Regions from separate parts of the Homo sapiens genome. Here all the other regions are linked to region 1. Evidence: promoter capture Hi-C in 16 types of primary human blood cells and fetal thymus (Javierre and others, 2016). All regions are on one chromosome and are shown on one strand. The core of a region is centred on a gene start or on the middle of the fragment in contact, and the rest is flanking DNA. Distances in the headings are between cores, read along the strand shown. Region 1 holds the start of YIF1B (Yip1 interacting factor homolog B, membrane trafficking protein). Region 2 overlaps WDR87 (WD repeat domain 87). Region 3 holds the start of WDR87 (WD repeat domain 87). Region 4 holds the start of MAP4K1 (mitogen-activated protein kinase kinase kinase kinase 1).

Region 1 (3,671 bases), core at 793-3,292:
CCTTCTCATAACATGTGGTGCTTTCTTTTTCTCTTCTGAGCACTCACAATAATTTCTGAATATATATTCATATGTCTACTTGTTTACTTGGCACAGGCCTCCAATGCCTTTCCTTCTCTCTCTCTTTTTTTTCTTTTCTTGAGGCGTTGTTTCGCTCGTTGCCTAGGCTGGAGTGCAATGGCGCAATCTTGGCTCACTGCAACCTCCGCATCCTGGGTTCAAGCGATTCTCCTGCCTCAGCCGCCCGAGTAGCTGGAATTACAGGTGCGCGCCACCACGCCCGGCTAATTTTTTTTTTTTTTTTTTTTGAGATGGAGTCTCACTCTGTCACCCAGGCTGGAGTGCAGTGGTGAAATCTCGGCCCACTGCACCCTCCACCTCCCAGGTTCAAGCAATTCTTCTGCTTCAGCCTCCTGAGTAGCTGGGACTACAGGCGCACACCACCACGCCCAGCTAAATTTTCTATTTTTAGTAGAGATGGGGTCTCACCATGTTGGCCAGGCTGGTCTCGAACTCCTGACCTCGTGATCCTCCCACCTCGGCCTCCCAAAATCCTGGGATTATAGGTGTGAACCACTGCGCCCAACCTAATTTTTTTGCATTTTTAGTAGAGATGGGGTTTCATCATGTTGGCCAGGCTGGTTGGCTGGGCACCGTGACTCATGCCTGTGATCCCAGCACTTTGGGAGGCCAAGGCAGGTGGATCACCCTCTTTTTTTTTTTTTTTTTTTTTTTTTGAGGCGAAGTCTTGCTCTGTCGCCCAGGCTGGTGCAATCTCGCCTCAGTGCAACCTCTGCCTCCTGGGTTCAAGTGATTCTCAAGCCTCAGACTCCCAAGTAGCCGGGATTACAGGTGCTCGCCACCACACCCGGCTAATTTTGTGTACTTTTATTAGAGATAGGATTTTGCTGTTACCCAAGCTGGTCTCCAACTCCTGGCCCCAAGTGATTCGCCCACCTCGACCTCCCAAAGTGCTGAGATTATAGGTGTAGGCCAGCACGCCCAGCCTGCCCTCTCACTACAAATCTCCTTCTCCTGGGTAACTTTTCATGATCAGAATTATCCTCTTCCATGCCGGGTGCGGTGGCTCACGCCTGTAATCCCAGCACTTTGGGAGGCCTAGGCGGGCGGATCACCTGAGGTCGGGAGTTTGAGACCAGCTTGACCAACATGGAGAAACCCCGTCTATACCACCCCGGGCGTGGTGGCCTGCGCCTGTAATCCCAGCTACTTGGGAGGCTGAGGCAGGAGAATCGCTTGAACCCGGGAGGCGGAGGTTGCGGTGACCTGAGATCGCGCCATTGCACTCCAGCCTTGGCAACAAGAACAAAACTAGGTCTCAAAAAAAAAAAAAAAAGAAAAAGAAGTATCCTCTTCCAGGAAGCTTCACTGACACCCCTAGGCTGGGTCATGTGCCTCCTCAGGGCTCCCACAACATCTCCATCCCAACACAGGGCCTGACACATGGGAGTTGAGACAAGTTAGGTTGAATGAATAAATGAAACACACAGCACACTCACGGAGATGAAGAGACAGGAAAAGGGGGCCAACAGCACAATACAGGTTCGCTTCTTAAATGAGCGGTAGGCATGGCCCTCTGCGCTCCCGGGGGGCCACGAAGCTGTCCTAAGGGTGTGGGCGACAGCAGGCGGGTACTGGGGAGCCACGGAAGGGTGGGGAGCAGGGAAGGGCGGATCGCTAACTGCAAATGAATGAAAGTTGCATTTCTCTGCATATCGCACGCTATCCAGTCCCAAGTTGTTTTCTTCTAAAGGAATTTCCTAAAGAATCGCCCCCCAAGGGGCCTCCTACCCGAACCTGGCATCCCAGCGCTGTGCACACCTCAGGGTTCCAGATCCTTGATCTCGTGACCTCTGACCTGCAGTGACCTCGCCAACCGACGCGGCCGCCCCGCCACGCCCCCGCCCGCCCGATCTCCTCCGCCGGCCACGTACGCCACTTACGCAGCCGGGGCGTCCCCGCAGCCGCCGCCGCCAAGCCTGCCGGGTGCATCCTTCGCCGCCGCCACCTAAGCCGCGGTTCGGAGCGTGCCCGCCCGGCTCCCGTACCCACGCCCCGCCGGCGAAGAGACAGCCAATGGACGTCAGGATTGAGGGAAGGCCTCGCCCCCACCCCCCCGACCCCTCCAGCCCCCCCCTTCACGGAGGCCTGGACGACTGGGCGGTGCCTTACGTAAGAGGCGGAGACTGGGCTACTGGGCTCATGCAGTAAAGCGAGTCAAGGCCTGAGTGGCAGGAGGGCGAGGCCGGGACCAATCCCAGGAGGAGGCGGTGTCTGCCACGACAGAAAATGAGTGTCTGCCCCTTGCCGGGGCTCACGCCCCTAACTCCAGCACTTTGGGAGGCCGAGGCGGGAGGATTGCTTCAGCCCAGGGATTCGAGACTAGCCTGAGCAACATAGTGACCCTCGCCCCGCCCCATCCCTACAATTTTTTTTTTTTTTAATTTAGCCAGGCTCAGTGGCTTAACGCCTGTAATCTCAGCACTTTGGAAGGCTGAGGATCGCTTGAGCCCAGGAGTTCGAGACCAGCCTGGGCAACAGCGAGATCTCCATCGCTACAAAACATTTTTTAAAATGTAAATATCGAGCGAAAAGGTCGATGGGAAATGCAGTTCTCTGCAGACAGCCGTTCAGTTTGGGTCATTGAGAGCACTGGAGAGCCAGAAAAGGCTGTGGAGCAAGGAAAAGAGAAACATTTGTGTTCCTGAGGGGCTAATTGGAGTTGTAGGGGCTTATACAATTTTTGACATCCCTTAGGTATTAAAGTAAATATTTATTTATTTTGAGACAGGGTCTTCCTCTGTTTTCCAGGCTGCCTCGGACCCCCTGAGCTCAAGTGATCCTCCTGCCTCAGCCTCCCCAGTAACTGGCACCACAGGCATGCACCACCATGCCCAGCTAATTTTTAAATTTTTTGTCAAAACAGGATCTTGCTATGTTGCCCAGGCTGGTCTCGAATTCCTGGGCTCAAGCCATCCTCCTGCTTCAGCCTCCTAAAGCATTAGGATTACAGACATGAGCCACAGTGCCCGGCCTTAAAGTGAATATTTAGAGTGAGAAAAGGAAACCCAACAAGTTAGGTGAGAAGAACCAGGTGTCTCTCTTGGAATAGATCTTAAGGCAGTTTCCCAGAAATTCATAAAAATGTTCTCACATTGCAACCTGGTTCCCTCTGTCCACCAAAAGCATTCTACAACCCCCAGCAACTCACAGCACACAGGCGCACCTGCAAGTGAAGAGCCCTGCCCACCTAGCGTCCTTAGTCTCTCCTCTCTCTGACTCTCAGTCTCCCCCCTTCTCTCCCTCTCAGACTCCCCGACTTATCTCAGGAAAACATAGTGGTGGAAGTTACTTCTGCGCAGCGATAGCGCATCCGGAAGGATGTCAGCAAGTGACCCTATCGCTGTGGCTTCCTCTTCCTCCTCTGAGACGTTGTCTTTTTGGAGACCTTAAGGGCTGCTCCTGGTTTCTCAGTGATGAGTGCTGGCTCCACTGTGGTTCCTTTTTGTGAGCGAAATGCCCGCATTCTTCTTCACCTCTGATTTAGCCTCTGTCCCCTGGGCTCCAACACCATTTTCTCCTCATCCTCAGCCCTCTCTTGCTCTGGTTGCTCCAGATACATCTCTTCCATAAATGTTTTTTTTTTTCTT
Region 2 (3,671 bases), core at 543-3,042, 430 kb before region 1:
ACAAAGAGTGCCCTCTTCATCTTTGTCATTTTTATTTCTTCCTGTGTTAGTTTCCTTTCATCCCTGGTTAGTTTTTGAAGTGCCTTTAAGATTTTGTTCAGTTTTGCTGGTTCCTTGGAAAGGCTCTCCCTTTTTTTAATCAACTTCCTTGAAGCCTTGGCTAACTTTCTTTGCCCCTGGACAAATATTCTCTGTCCTCTAGTAAATTCCAGTTTTCCTTTGGCAATTTCGCTTTCCTCCATGGCCAATATCCTGTCTTCATGTAGCAGTATCTTCTCCTCTAGTGACAATTTTCTCTCAAATAGTTCTTGTTCAACTTGAGTCATTTTCCTTTGTCTAGAAGTTTCTGGAGTCTCTCCCTTAGACAGTGTTTCTTTTCCCTCAACCAGTCTCATCTTCTCCTCAGCCAGTCTTTTCATTTCCAGGTTCAATGCCTTTTCTTCCTTAGCAATATCCAACTCTCCTCTGAGCCGTTTCTTTCCTTGGACCATTGCCTTCTCCAGAGCTAATTTCATTTTTTCCTGGGCCAATTTCTCCTGTTTTTTGGCCAAACTATCCTCTACTTGGACCAATTTTTTCTCTGTTTCAGCCAGTTTCTCCTTCTTCTTGATCACAGTCTCCTTTTCCTGTGTCAGCTTCTCCTCTACCTGAGCCAGTATCTTGTTGAACATTCCCAATTTGTTCTTTACTTGCACTAATTGCTTTTTGCTGTGGGTGAGTCTTTCTTTATTATAGAGTAGGTTCTCTTTCCTCTGAGCCAATTTTTCCTTCTCCTGGGCCAGATTCTTCTTTTCCTGAGCCAGATTCTTCTTCTGGTACAGTATCATCTTGTTCTTTGTGAGTTCTTCCATGCTGTTGATCCATCTTTCCCTTTTTTGGGCCAGTTTCATCTTCTTCTCAATCAATTGCTCCCTTTTCCGTCCCAGTCTTTCCTCTTCCTCAGGCATTTTTTCCTTGTGCTGGGCCAGTTTCTCCTTTTCCTGGATCAGCAACTCTTCTTCCTGGGCCAGTTTTGTCTCTTCTTCAGACAGTTTCTCCCTTTGCCAGGCCAATGCCTCCTCTTCCTCAGCCAGTTTCTTCTTTTCCTCAACCAGTTTCCCCTCTTCCTGATTCAGTTCCTCTTCTTTCCAAGACAGTTCTTCCATGTCCCATTCCAGTTCCTCCAATTCCTGGGCCAGCTCCTTTTCTTGCCAGTCCAGATTTTGTTCCCTCTGGGGCAGTTCTTCCACTTTCTGGGCCAATATGTTTTTCACCTCAGCCAGTTTCCCTCCTTTCTTTGCTAGTTTCTCTTCTTCTCTAGCCACTTTCTCCCATTTCTTGGCCAGTTTCTTCCTTTTCTGGGCCAATTTCTCCGCCTCCTGGCTTAGCTTCTCCCCTCTTTGGGCCAGTGTTTCCTCTTTCTGGGCAAACTTACCCTCTGCCTGGGCCATTTCCCTGTCATCCTGGGTTATTTTCACGTATGCCTGGGCCAGTTTTCTCTCTTCCTGGGCCAACTGTCTCTCTTCTTGTGCAAGTTTCTCTTCTTCTTGTGCTAATTTCCTCTCTTCTTGGGCTCGTTTTTTTTCAGCTCGGGCTCGTTTCCTGTGTATTCTGGCCCATTTGTGTTCTTCTTGGATGTGTCTCTGCTCTTCTGTGACCTGCTGTTCTTTTTCTTCCCCCTCCCGAGACACTTCTTCCTCCAAAGTCACTTCTTCCTCATCCTTGTACTGTTGCTCCTTGGACTTAGATGATAACATATTTTCCCAGACTTGTTTCCACTCCTCCCATTTCAGCTTCTTGTCCTCCTGAAGCATTTCCTCCTCCGGGGATAGCTTCTCTCCAGCCTGATGTAGTTTCTCCTCTTCCTGAAGAAGCCTCTTCTCCCATTCTTCCTTCCATGCCTTCCAGGATTTCCTTGTCTCACCATGGACCTGTTTCCACTCATCCCAGGCCTTTTTCCAGTCCTGCCAAGATGGTGTCCTCTCAATCATAACCAGTTTTCCTTCTTGTTTGACCACTTTCTCCTCTAGTGTGGCCATTTCCTCCACTTCCTCACTCATATCCCTCTCTTCTTTGGTCATTTCCCTCTTTATTTTTCCTACTTTTCTTTCCTTCTGGACAGCTTTCCTCCCTTGCTTAGGTGACTTCTGAAAGGTTTTCTTCTCTTCTTTCTTTGATATTTCTTTTCCCATGGTTACATTACCTGGTTCTAAAAAAATAACTTTCTTGCCCTTTTTCAAAATCACTTGGGTTTCCTCCAAGCCCAGCATGTCTCTTGCTTTCTTTTGTGCTTGTTCTTCTTCCCTTGGCATCACTTCCTTGTGTCTGATCACCTCTTGGGTCACACCTTGTATCATGTCCTCTCTAATTGCTCCTTCCTGGATAAAAATTGGTTTCTTCTCTGGCGGGACTACATCCCAATCAAGGTCCTCAAGCAGAACCTTACTTTCTTTCTTCAATAGGGGGCAGATCTCCTGAAAGAGTTCCCAGCTGGGGTGCCTATCTACCAGCATCTCCTGAGCAAATGTCACTAGCTCAGCGTTTAGGTTTTCTGACATTTTTGTTTGGGAACCAGATATCCTCAGGGCCATAAGACGACATAGATCGTCCCTCCATGATGAGCCATCTCCAGCGGTTGACCTGCGGCCAGATATTCCAGAGGCTCCCCGCCCTTGGATTTTAACCTTTTTAGTAACTGGCTGTTCCATTACAGGAGGTGTAGTTTCCTCATTTATAACTTTGGCTTCTTTTCCCTTCTTTTTGTGCTTCTTTTTGAGTTTCTGAGCTGTTGCTTTCTTGTCTCTTTTGTCACGTATTTTCTGCAGCCTCTTCAGGGTCAATGCAATGTGATCCTTCGAGATATCTTTCTCTTGAGAATCAACATCTTTTGAGAGCTTTATTACACTGGTGCTTGAAGACCATTGGGAATAGACGGATGCTTCCTCCATCTCAATTGGTGCGGCCTCAGTCCCACTTTCATCCTCTAAGAGGCCTGGCTCTGTGCTCATCTGTTTAGAGTCTCTCTCTTTCGTCTTCTTGAGACCCCGCAACCATTTTTGGCCTGCAGTAAAAATCGAGAGATGGAGGTAAGCAAAGTATGGGAAGCGACATGAAACCCTTCCCAATATTAGGTGTGAGCTAAGAAGAACTGTCATATAAGAAGTAACAACAGAGAGAACTGAGGCCTTAAAAAAAAAAAGCATTCTCTTTGCTTTATTCCTAGCCCCCTACTCCTGCCAAATCCTAGAGAGCTAGGCCTTAGAGTCTTCCTGAGTTTGAGTGGATCCTTCCTTAGAAAGTCTTTTTTTTTCATTGCTTTCATAAAAATCAATTTTACTGAGGTATAATTTAAACAGGATATACCCATTTTAAGCAAACAGTTTGATGAGTTTGAAAAATGTATACACTTTTGTAATTACTGCAATCACAATCAGGATATAAGGCATTTCTATTATCCCCCTAAATTCCCTCCTATATAGTGTCCCAGTCAACATCTATCTACCCTTAACCTCTGGCCCTAGGCAACCACTGATCTGCTTTCTGTGACTGTAGATTCATTTGCCTTTTTTAGGATTCCAAATAAATAGAATCATTAAAAAATGTGCTCTTTTGTGTTTGCTTTCTTTCAATAGTTTTTGAGATTCTTCCATGTTGTTGCATGTATCACTCTTTTTTATCACAGTAGTATTTCA
Region 3 (3,671 bases), core at 818-3,317, 410 kb before region 1:
TTTTTGTATTTTTAGCAGAGATGTGGTTTCGCCATTTTGGCCAGGCTGGTCTCAAACTCCTGACCTCAAGTGATCCGCCCACCTCCCAAAGTGCTGGGATTACAGGCGTGAGCCACTGTGCCTGGCCAAAAATATTTTTCTTATGCAAGTGATAGTATACTATATACACTGTTATTCACTTTTCTCTTAATATACCTTTAAGACTAATTCATATTAATACATATAACTCATTTCCCAACAGTTACTAGCTGCAGGGTATTCCACCGTGTGGCTGAACTATCATTTATTTATTCAAATTTCTATTAATGGACATTCGGTAGTTTCCAACCTTTTGCTACTGCAGCTAATGCCGCAAATGAGTATCTTTGTTAGTGCCTCATAACATTTTAATTTTATTTGATTTTAATTAACTTAAATTGTAGAACTGAGGCCAGGCATGGTGGCTCACGCCTGTAATCCCAGCATTTTGGGAGGCCGAGGCTGGCAGATCACGTCAGGAGATCGAGACCATCCTGGCTAACATGGTGAAACCCAGTCTCTACTAAAAATACAAAAATTAGCTGGGTGTGATGGCGCCTGCCTGTAATCCCAGCTACTTGGGAGGCTGAGGCAGGAGAGTCACTTGAACCAGGGAGTCAGAGGTTGCAGGGAGCCGAGGTGGCGCCACTGCACTCCAGCCTGGCGACAGAGTGGGACTCCGTCTCCAAAAAAAAAAAAAAAAAAAGTAGAACTGAAGCAATGAAAACATTTTTCCATTAACCTAACTTGGAATAATATTTTGGATATATTTGGGTTAAATAAAATATTAAAATTAATTTCATAGCTGGGTGAGATGGCTCACGCCTATAATCCCAGCACTTTGCGAGGCTGAGGTAGGAACATGTCTTGAGGCCAGGAGTTCAATACCAGCCTGGGCAACATAGCAAGAAAAAAAAAAGTAAATAATAATGATAAATAAAATGAATTTTACCTGTTTATGTCAAAATTAAAATTGCATATGTGGCTTGCATTACACATAAAAACACACACATATATAATTTTTTTTTTTTTTAAAGAGACAGGGTTCTGCTTTGTCGCCCAAGCTGGAGGGCAGTGGTGCAATCATGGTTCACTGCAGTCTCAAACTCCTGGGCTTAAGCGATACTCAGCCTCTTAAATAGCTGGGACTATGGCCACATGCCACCACGCCTAGCTAGTTTTTTAGTTTTAGTAGAGATAGGGTCTTGCTATGTTACCCGGCCAGTCTCCAACTCCTGGCCTTAAGTGATCCTCCTGCCTCGGTGGCTCAAAGTGCAGGGTATATTTCTCTTAGCTAGTATTGCTCTACATTGTTGTAGTCTGGTGGTGGCCTGATATCCCTACTGGACTGAAAACTCCCTGAAGGTAGGAGTCCAGTCTGTCTGGATTTCTCTTGTGTCTCCATAATCACCCAACCTGACATGGAATAGGTGGTTAATCCATTTTTGTTGAATGAGTGGAAAAATGTGCTCTCCCAGGAAGAAACATATGCTTCCCAGCTTCAAGTGTTAGTGAACATCTTCCTAGAAGGCAGGCTGAGGCGGAAAGGGTATTGACTCCGGCTTCTCCACCAGAGGACCTTGCAATTCCAGTCAATTCCCTCGGTAACTCTTATGGAGGAGTGGCAATATACCTTAAAAAAGGAGTGTGTGTTGCGGGGTATTCCGCTGCTTGGTTATGTCACCAGGTGGATTAAATTTGGACAAAATTTCCCAAGGTGTAGGTACTCTACAAACACTAGTTACCCTCAGGAATGTGCGATCAACAAAAGAATGCAAGATAACAAGGCCCCTAGGCAGCCCCTGGGTCTTGTGGCTCCCGTCGAAGGCAGAGCTCTGGAGCCGCCTACGCCGGGGACAGGCGACTACACCTGGGGCCCCTCACCCTCGGGCCTCCTGCACGTGGCAGGGAAGGCAGGGCGTCTCTATCTCAAAGCATTGGCTGCGCCTGTTACCTGCGACAGGATTCCCGACAAGGGACGGGTACGGCGTGTGCACTCAGGAGCTCCTAGAGCTAGGGGCAGCAACTAAGAAGCTACCTGGCGGATGTTGCGAGAGGACTCCGCCCACAGAACGGTTGGCCCCCAACCCCGCAGCCGGCGGACTTCCCGAGGCCAGGGGTCTGAACGCGCGTGCGCATGGGCGCGCGCCCGGCGCGAGAACGCGCGCGCGCTCTCGAAAGAAAAAAAAAAAAAATCCTCTCCGCGGGGTCCCGCGGCAATTTAGGCCGGGGTCTGCCGACGACCGCGCGTGCGCGGGCGTGCATCTACGCCCTCCTCCACCGCCCCCTCCGCTGGGGGTCTAGCGCACTGCTCCGCTTCCCCCGTTTCCCCCGGGCTAGCGTCCTAGGGGTAAGTGACTCGAGCCTGGCAGAGAGTGAGGGAGAGGTTCCGCCGAATGAAGGGAGGAGGTAGACGGGGCCAGGAGAAAGGAGAAACCGCCCCGGCGGGGCGAAGAGCGCGGCTCTCGAGCTGTAGTCTGCAGGAGACACACCTCCCTCCCTCACGCCCCTCGGGGCTGCGGAAGTGCTCTACAGACTGGAGCTGCACGAAGGCGACCAGCGGACTACCGTTCCTAGGAGGCAGCGCGGCGGTGCGCCTACGGCTCCCGGCAGCCCCCGCGCGCCATTCTCTTTTTGAGTTCGCGGCCGGCTAGGGCGAAACTACAGTTCCCAGGAGGACTCGCGCGAAGCGGCTTGGAAGTGGGCAGCCTGGAAGTCACTCGGGCCACCGGAGCTGGCGGCGTCTCCAGCGAGCGGCGCGGAGCTGGACGCCGCGATCGTGGGGCCCGCGAGGCGGGCAGCCGGGGCGTCCAGGTACGTGGCTCCGGGTGCAGGATCGGCCTCGCGCAAGGGTGGCGGGGAATCGGTGGCTGCCCGGACCCCGAGGGTCAGCGCGGGCGGACGGCCGGGTGTGGGTACTGGCCGTGGGGGGCGGCGGCGCCGGGACTCGCGCCCTCCGGACCCAGCCGGACTCGTGCCCGCATGGCTCAACTTTCCAGGCGTGCACCCCGGCGCTGTGGTGAAGAGCTTGGAGGCGGGGAGCGGTGGATTCGCGTCCCGGCTGTGCCACTCGGGAGCCGCGATCTGGGAAAACCGCGCCGAACCTCAATTTCCCCTGCAGTAAAACGGAGTAGGAGAGCATCTTGGCGGAGACTCTGTTGAGATAATATAATAAAACATTTGGCACATAGGAGGCACTTACTACGTATTTGGGTTATTGTTAGCTCTCCGAAAAATGAGGTGAAGATGTTATCGATTGCATAGGGTGAGGATTAGTTGAGCGTGTGCATGTAAAGAGGTGAGTCCTTAGTTAGCACCCAATGCAGGCTAGCTGCTGTTAACCGAGATTATTTTGTTAAGAGCGTTGGTTTGGAAGGCAGAGAGACCCCAGGTTCAAATTTGAACATTTACCAGCTGTGTGACTTTGGGCAACTGGCTTCACCTCTCTGTGCCTTGGTTTCCCTATCTATAAAATGGGGATTTAAATAGCAACCACTTCGTCGAGTTGTTTTCAGGATGCAGTGAGAATACCATGTGTAAAGTGCTTAGCACAGCAGCTGGCATATAACGCTCAGTAAATGGTACCATTTATTCAGCGTTTTCCTAGTGGCCCAGAGACCCTCTGAGGGTGGGGCTCTGGCCGTAGTATTGGT
Region 4 (3,671 bases), core at 329-2,828, 300 kb after region 1:
TCTCATCACTCCACCTCTCCTTGTCTACCAGAGTGAGGTTGTTTCATTCCCATTTTACAGACAAGGAAGTTAAGGCTCAGAGAGGAAATGTGAGTTCCGGGGCAAGTCAACTCAAACCTAGGCCTTTGGGCGGGACCCCACTGCCGTCCCACGCCAACCTAGGAGGCAGGGCAGAGATCTCACGGGTTGTGGAGATTTGGAGGGGACAGAGGGGCCCAGGGCACCTGTTCTGGGGAGCAGAGGTCATTATTGGGGCATCTGGAATATTAATTTGGGGATCAGGGAATTTAGGAGTTTATATTAAAGGAGCAGAGAGTGAAACTGGGTGAGCCAAAGAGCAGAATGGTGAGAGCTTCGTTTCAAGGGAGTTGATTTCAAATTCAGTTACTATGAAGAGATCAATTTGGGGTACTCTTGGTCAGAAATGGGAATTTTAGATTGGAGATTAGATTAGAGGCTGCTCTGGTCAGAAAAGTGGGACTTAGGAGTGAGGATCATGGTAGGGTTAGCCCAGTCAAAAATGGGGGTCCAGGATGGGAGGTCGGGTTATGGTGAGAAATGGAAGTTCAAGGTTAGAACTGAGGGTGCCAAGACCAGGCGCGGTGGATCACACCTGTAATCCCAGCACTTTCGGAGGCCGAGGCGAGTGGATCACAAGGTCAGGAGTTCAAGACCAGCCTGGCCAAGATGGTGAAACCCCATCTCTACTAAAAATACAAAAATTTGCCGGGCAGGGTGGTGAGCGCCTGTAATCCCAGCTACTCGGGAGTCTGAGGCAGAGAATTGCTTGAACCCAGGAGGCAGAGGTTGCAGTGAGCTGAGATCATGCCACTGCACTCCAGCCTGGCAACAGAACAAGACTCCATCTCAAAAAAGAAAAAGAAAAGAAAAAAAAAGAACTGAGGGTACCCCCATCAAGAAATGGGGACTCCGGGTTAGGGGCTGGGCTGGGTGCCAGGGTGGGTCTGAGGTTCATCACCAGAGATAACTCCCATGGTAGGCCACGATGTTGGCGTGCCGGCAAGTTTTCAATATGAGGATTTCCTTCTGAAGGGTGGAGACATCATCATCTGTGAGGAGGGCGGGAGAGAAAAGGCAGCTCGCATGGGGAGAGAGCTACAGGGGAGGTGATCCCAGTGTCCCAGGAGGCGAAGGTGGGGATGTGGGGAAGGAGCTCCATGTTCCCTCCTCACCAGGCTCCATCTTCACCATCTTCAGTGCCACCAGGTCCCCTGACACCTTGTCTCGAGCCTTGCAAAGGGGAAGTTGGCAGTCAGGCAGGCTCCATTTGCCAGAGTCCCTCCACAGCATCCCTGAGTCAAGGTCAAGAACTGGGACCCCCTCTTGCAGCCTCCTCCCTGCCGAGGGCTTGCCTTAAAGGTCACTGGTTGTAGGGTGTTGGGGACAGAGGGGCTTCCTCACCTTAAAGACTTCCCCATACGTGCCGCCACCCAGCCGCTGTAGCAGGTCATAGTGGTCCCGGGGGTCTCTATTGAAAATGTCAGGGTCCACGACGTCCATCCCTGGGGGCCTGAGCTGGGCCTGCGCCCAGGGGCCAGCAGGGCCTCAGGGCTCAACTTCTGGCACCTCCCTCCGTCCCCAGAAGCCCTGCACCCGCCTTGCCTCCGCGGGCTGTGGCCTCCCCCCTCCTCACTCTCGCTTCCTGCCCCAGCTGCACTGCACGACTGTGCAACGGGCTCCACCCCCCCGTCCCCTGGGCTCTGAGAGCCTCTGAGGGGCAGCTTGTCTTGGGACCCAAGGGACCACCCTCAACCTCCAAGGCCCAGGGCTGGATGTAAATGTGATGCAAATGATCTTAATCGTAACTGGGTTGGAGGGGGGTGCCTTAGAACCCCCGCCCCCGTCTCCTAGGTAGTGTCTAAACCTCTGCTGGGTGCTTGAAGGTTTGGCCACAACCCGAAGGCGGCAGGTCTGCAAAGGGATGGCTATGCAGTGTACATGCCTGTTCACCTGTCACATACATGCACTTGGGTTACCTCCTCTGCACTGCGCAGGCGTGTAGACGTGCATCTGCCTGGATACCTGTGTGCACAGTACACACGTGGATGTACCCAGGACATATACCTCCACATGCATGGCACATAACTGCATTTTGTAGGCCTGCAGTGTACAAAACCTATACATAATATATAATTCATGGCAGTACAAATGGGACGCTCGCCCTCAGCTCCAAGACCGGAACCTAATGGAGACGGGGCGCGATCCGGCGAAGTCCAGGAGCCCTCACCCCAGCCCCTGCCCGGCAGAGCACAGTAGCTTTGTGGGACCCTCCTCCTGGAGCTGGGGACCAAGGGCTGAGACTTGAAACTGGAGAGCTCAGGATCCTGCACCAGGCGCCCAGGCCTGTGGCAAGAGGGACCTCAGAACACCTCCCTCGGAACTTGGCCATGGCCTAAACGTAAGGCTGCTGCGTGCATTCCCGCAGAGCTCCGTGGCCTCATGGCCGCGCGCAATACAACGCGCGCGCACGCCGCCAGAGCTCCGGGTGCTTCCCGGTGAGTTCGCGCGCGCACGCTCCCGCGCTACCGGCACTGGAACTGGGTCTGTGAGGCCCGGGAAAAGCTTAGCCCCGCCCCCTCGCCACGAGAGGCGCCTGCGCACTGGGATCCAGTAAGATTTTTCTCACGCTGTCTGTCCAGCTTGAGTGGCGCGAATGCGCACGCGCCAATTGCGCCTGCGAGGAAGAAGTCACGTGGCAGCCGGAAAGCGTGGCGGCTGCTGCTAGAGCCTTTCCCTTTACCGCACCCAAGGAGCTGGAGCGACAACAACGACGTCGTTTCCGTTTCCACCACCTCTTCCTGTTCCCGTCCTTGAGGACGCCGTGCCGGGTCAGTGTTAGCCTCCAGCCCTGGTTGTGGAAGGCGACAGAAGTCATGGCGATGTTTGAGCAGATGAGAGCCAACGTGGGCAAGTTGCTCAAGGGTATCGACAGGTCTGAGCCCGGTTGGAGGAAGCGCTCTGGCCAAGCGGGGCGGAGGAGAGGGTTTTCCGGAGACAGCAAGGGGTGTTCAGGGTCCTGGGCTTGCCGCGGGGTGGGGTTTCTCTATCCTCCTGGAGGAGGAGATGCTTAAAGAAACGGCACTGAGCTGGGGGTAGTGGCTCACGCCTGTGATCCTAGCACTTTGGGAGGCCGAGGTAGGTGGGTCGCCTGAGCCCAGGAGTTAGAGACCAGCCTGGGCAACAGCCAAACCCCGTCTCTAAAAGAAAGAAACAAAAGCACTGCAAAGGCCTAGAAGCGAGAGAATCTTGGTACCACTCAGTCTCTTCGTAAATTGCCTTAAGGTTTCCTTCTCTGCTCCGCCTCCTTTGAGTGCCTCTTAATCTCTCCCTTCTCTGCTCTATAAGTCATTCATTCTCCACACGTTTACTGAAATAAACTGTCAGTGCTAGGCAATGCTGGGAACCACAGGCGAATCAGACAGCGGCAGATCATGCCTTCACGGTCTGAGTTCCCTTTCCATAAGGGAGACAAACCTGACAGCAGACAGCGATAGCCGGGAGAGATTAGAACTGAAATGGGGGAAGCAAAGGCCAGAGTGTTCAGGTGGACATGGAGGAAGTAGGCAGCGAGGTAGGCAGGAGAGGATGGGGCTGGATCAGGGTGGAGGCCTGAACAGGGGAGGAAGGGGTGAGTAGCAGAGACATTCAGG

The links. The method cuts DNA at HindIII sites, captures the fragments that hold promoters and counts their contacts. A CHiCAGO score of 5 or more calls a contact.
Region 2: a fragment that was not itself captured here is called in contact with the fragment with the promoter of YIF1B in region 1 in 5 of 17 cell types (naive CD4 T cells, total B cells, naive B cells and 2 more); the score reaches 7.4 in naive CD4 T cells.
Region 3: the fragment with the promoter of WDR87 here is called in contact with the fragment with the promoter of YIF1B in region 1 in 10 of 17 cell types (total B cells, naive B cells, naive CD4 T cells and 7 more); the score reaches 12.2 in total B cells.
Region 4: the fragment with the promoter of MAP4K1 here is called in contact with the fragment with the promoter of YIF1B in region 1 in 4 of 17 cell types (fetal thymus, neutrophils, naive CD4 T cells and 1 more); the score reaches 8.5 in fetal thymus.

The regions. Positions count from the first base shown.
Region 1 is chr19:38,313,905-38,317,575 of GRCh38, forward strand. It overlaps YIF1B (Yip1 interacting factor homolog B, membrane trafficking protein), which reads right to left and starts at 2,043. Exons shown (of 8, transcript NM_001039672.3): 1 at 1,956-2,043. The coding sequence starts at 2,013. RefSeq lists a silencer at 1,878-2,367. The HindIII fragment of the contact is 4,086 bases long and covers 1,383-3,671 here.
Region 2 is chr19:37,887,237-37,890,907 of GRCh38, forward strand. WDR87 (WD repeat domain 87) reads right to left here. Exons shown (of 6, transcript NM_001291088.2): 6 at 1-3,040. All of the region lies in intron 4 of LOC105372395 (a long non-coding RNA gene), which reads left to right. Among named protein-coding and RNA genes, the nearest start is that of WDR87, 18 kb to the right of the region's middle. The HindIII fragment of the contact is 9,115 bases long and covers 1-3,671 here.
Region 3 is chr19:37,904,527-37,908,197 of GRCh38, forward strand. WDR87 (WD repeat domain 87) reads right to left here and starts at 2,068. Exons shown (of 6, transcript NM_001291088.2): 1 at 1,973-2,068. It overlaps SIPA1L3 (signal induced proliferation associated 1 like 3), which reads left to right and starts at 2,682. Exons shown (of 22, transcript NM_015073.3): 1 at 2,682-2,832. RefSeq lists a silencer at 2,794-3,033 and an enhancer at 3,334-3,393. The HindIII fragment of the contact is 21,411 bases long and covers 1-3,671 here.
Region 4 is chr19:38,616,375-38,620,045 of GRCh38, forward strand. It overlaps MAP4K1 (mitogen-activated protein kinase kinase kinase kinase 1), which reads right to left and starts at 1,579. Exons shown (of 31, transcript NM_001042600.3): 1 at 1,423-1,579; 2 at 1,194-1,251; 3 at 980-1,070. The coding sequence starts at 1,521. EIF3K (eukaryotic translation initiation factor 3 subunit K) reads left to right here and starts at 2,814. Exons shown (of 8, transcript NM_013234.4): 1 at 2,814-2,953. The coding sequence starts at 2,895. RefSeq lists an enhancer at 2,103-2,152. The HindIII fragment of the contact is 13,708 bases long and covers 1-2,581 here.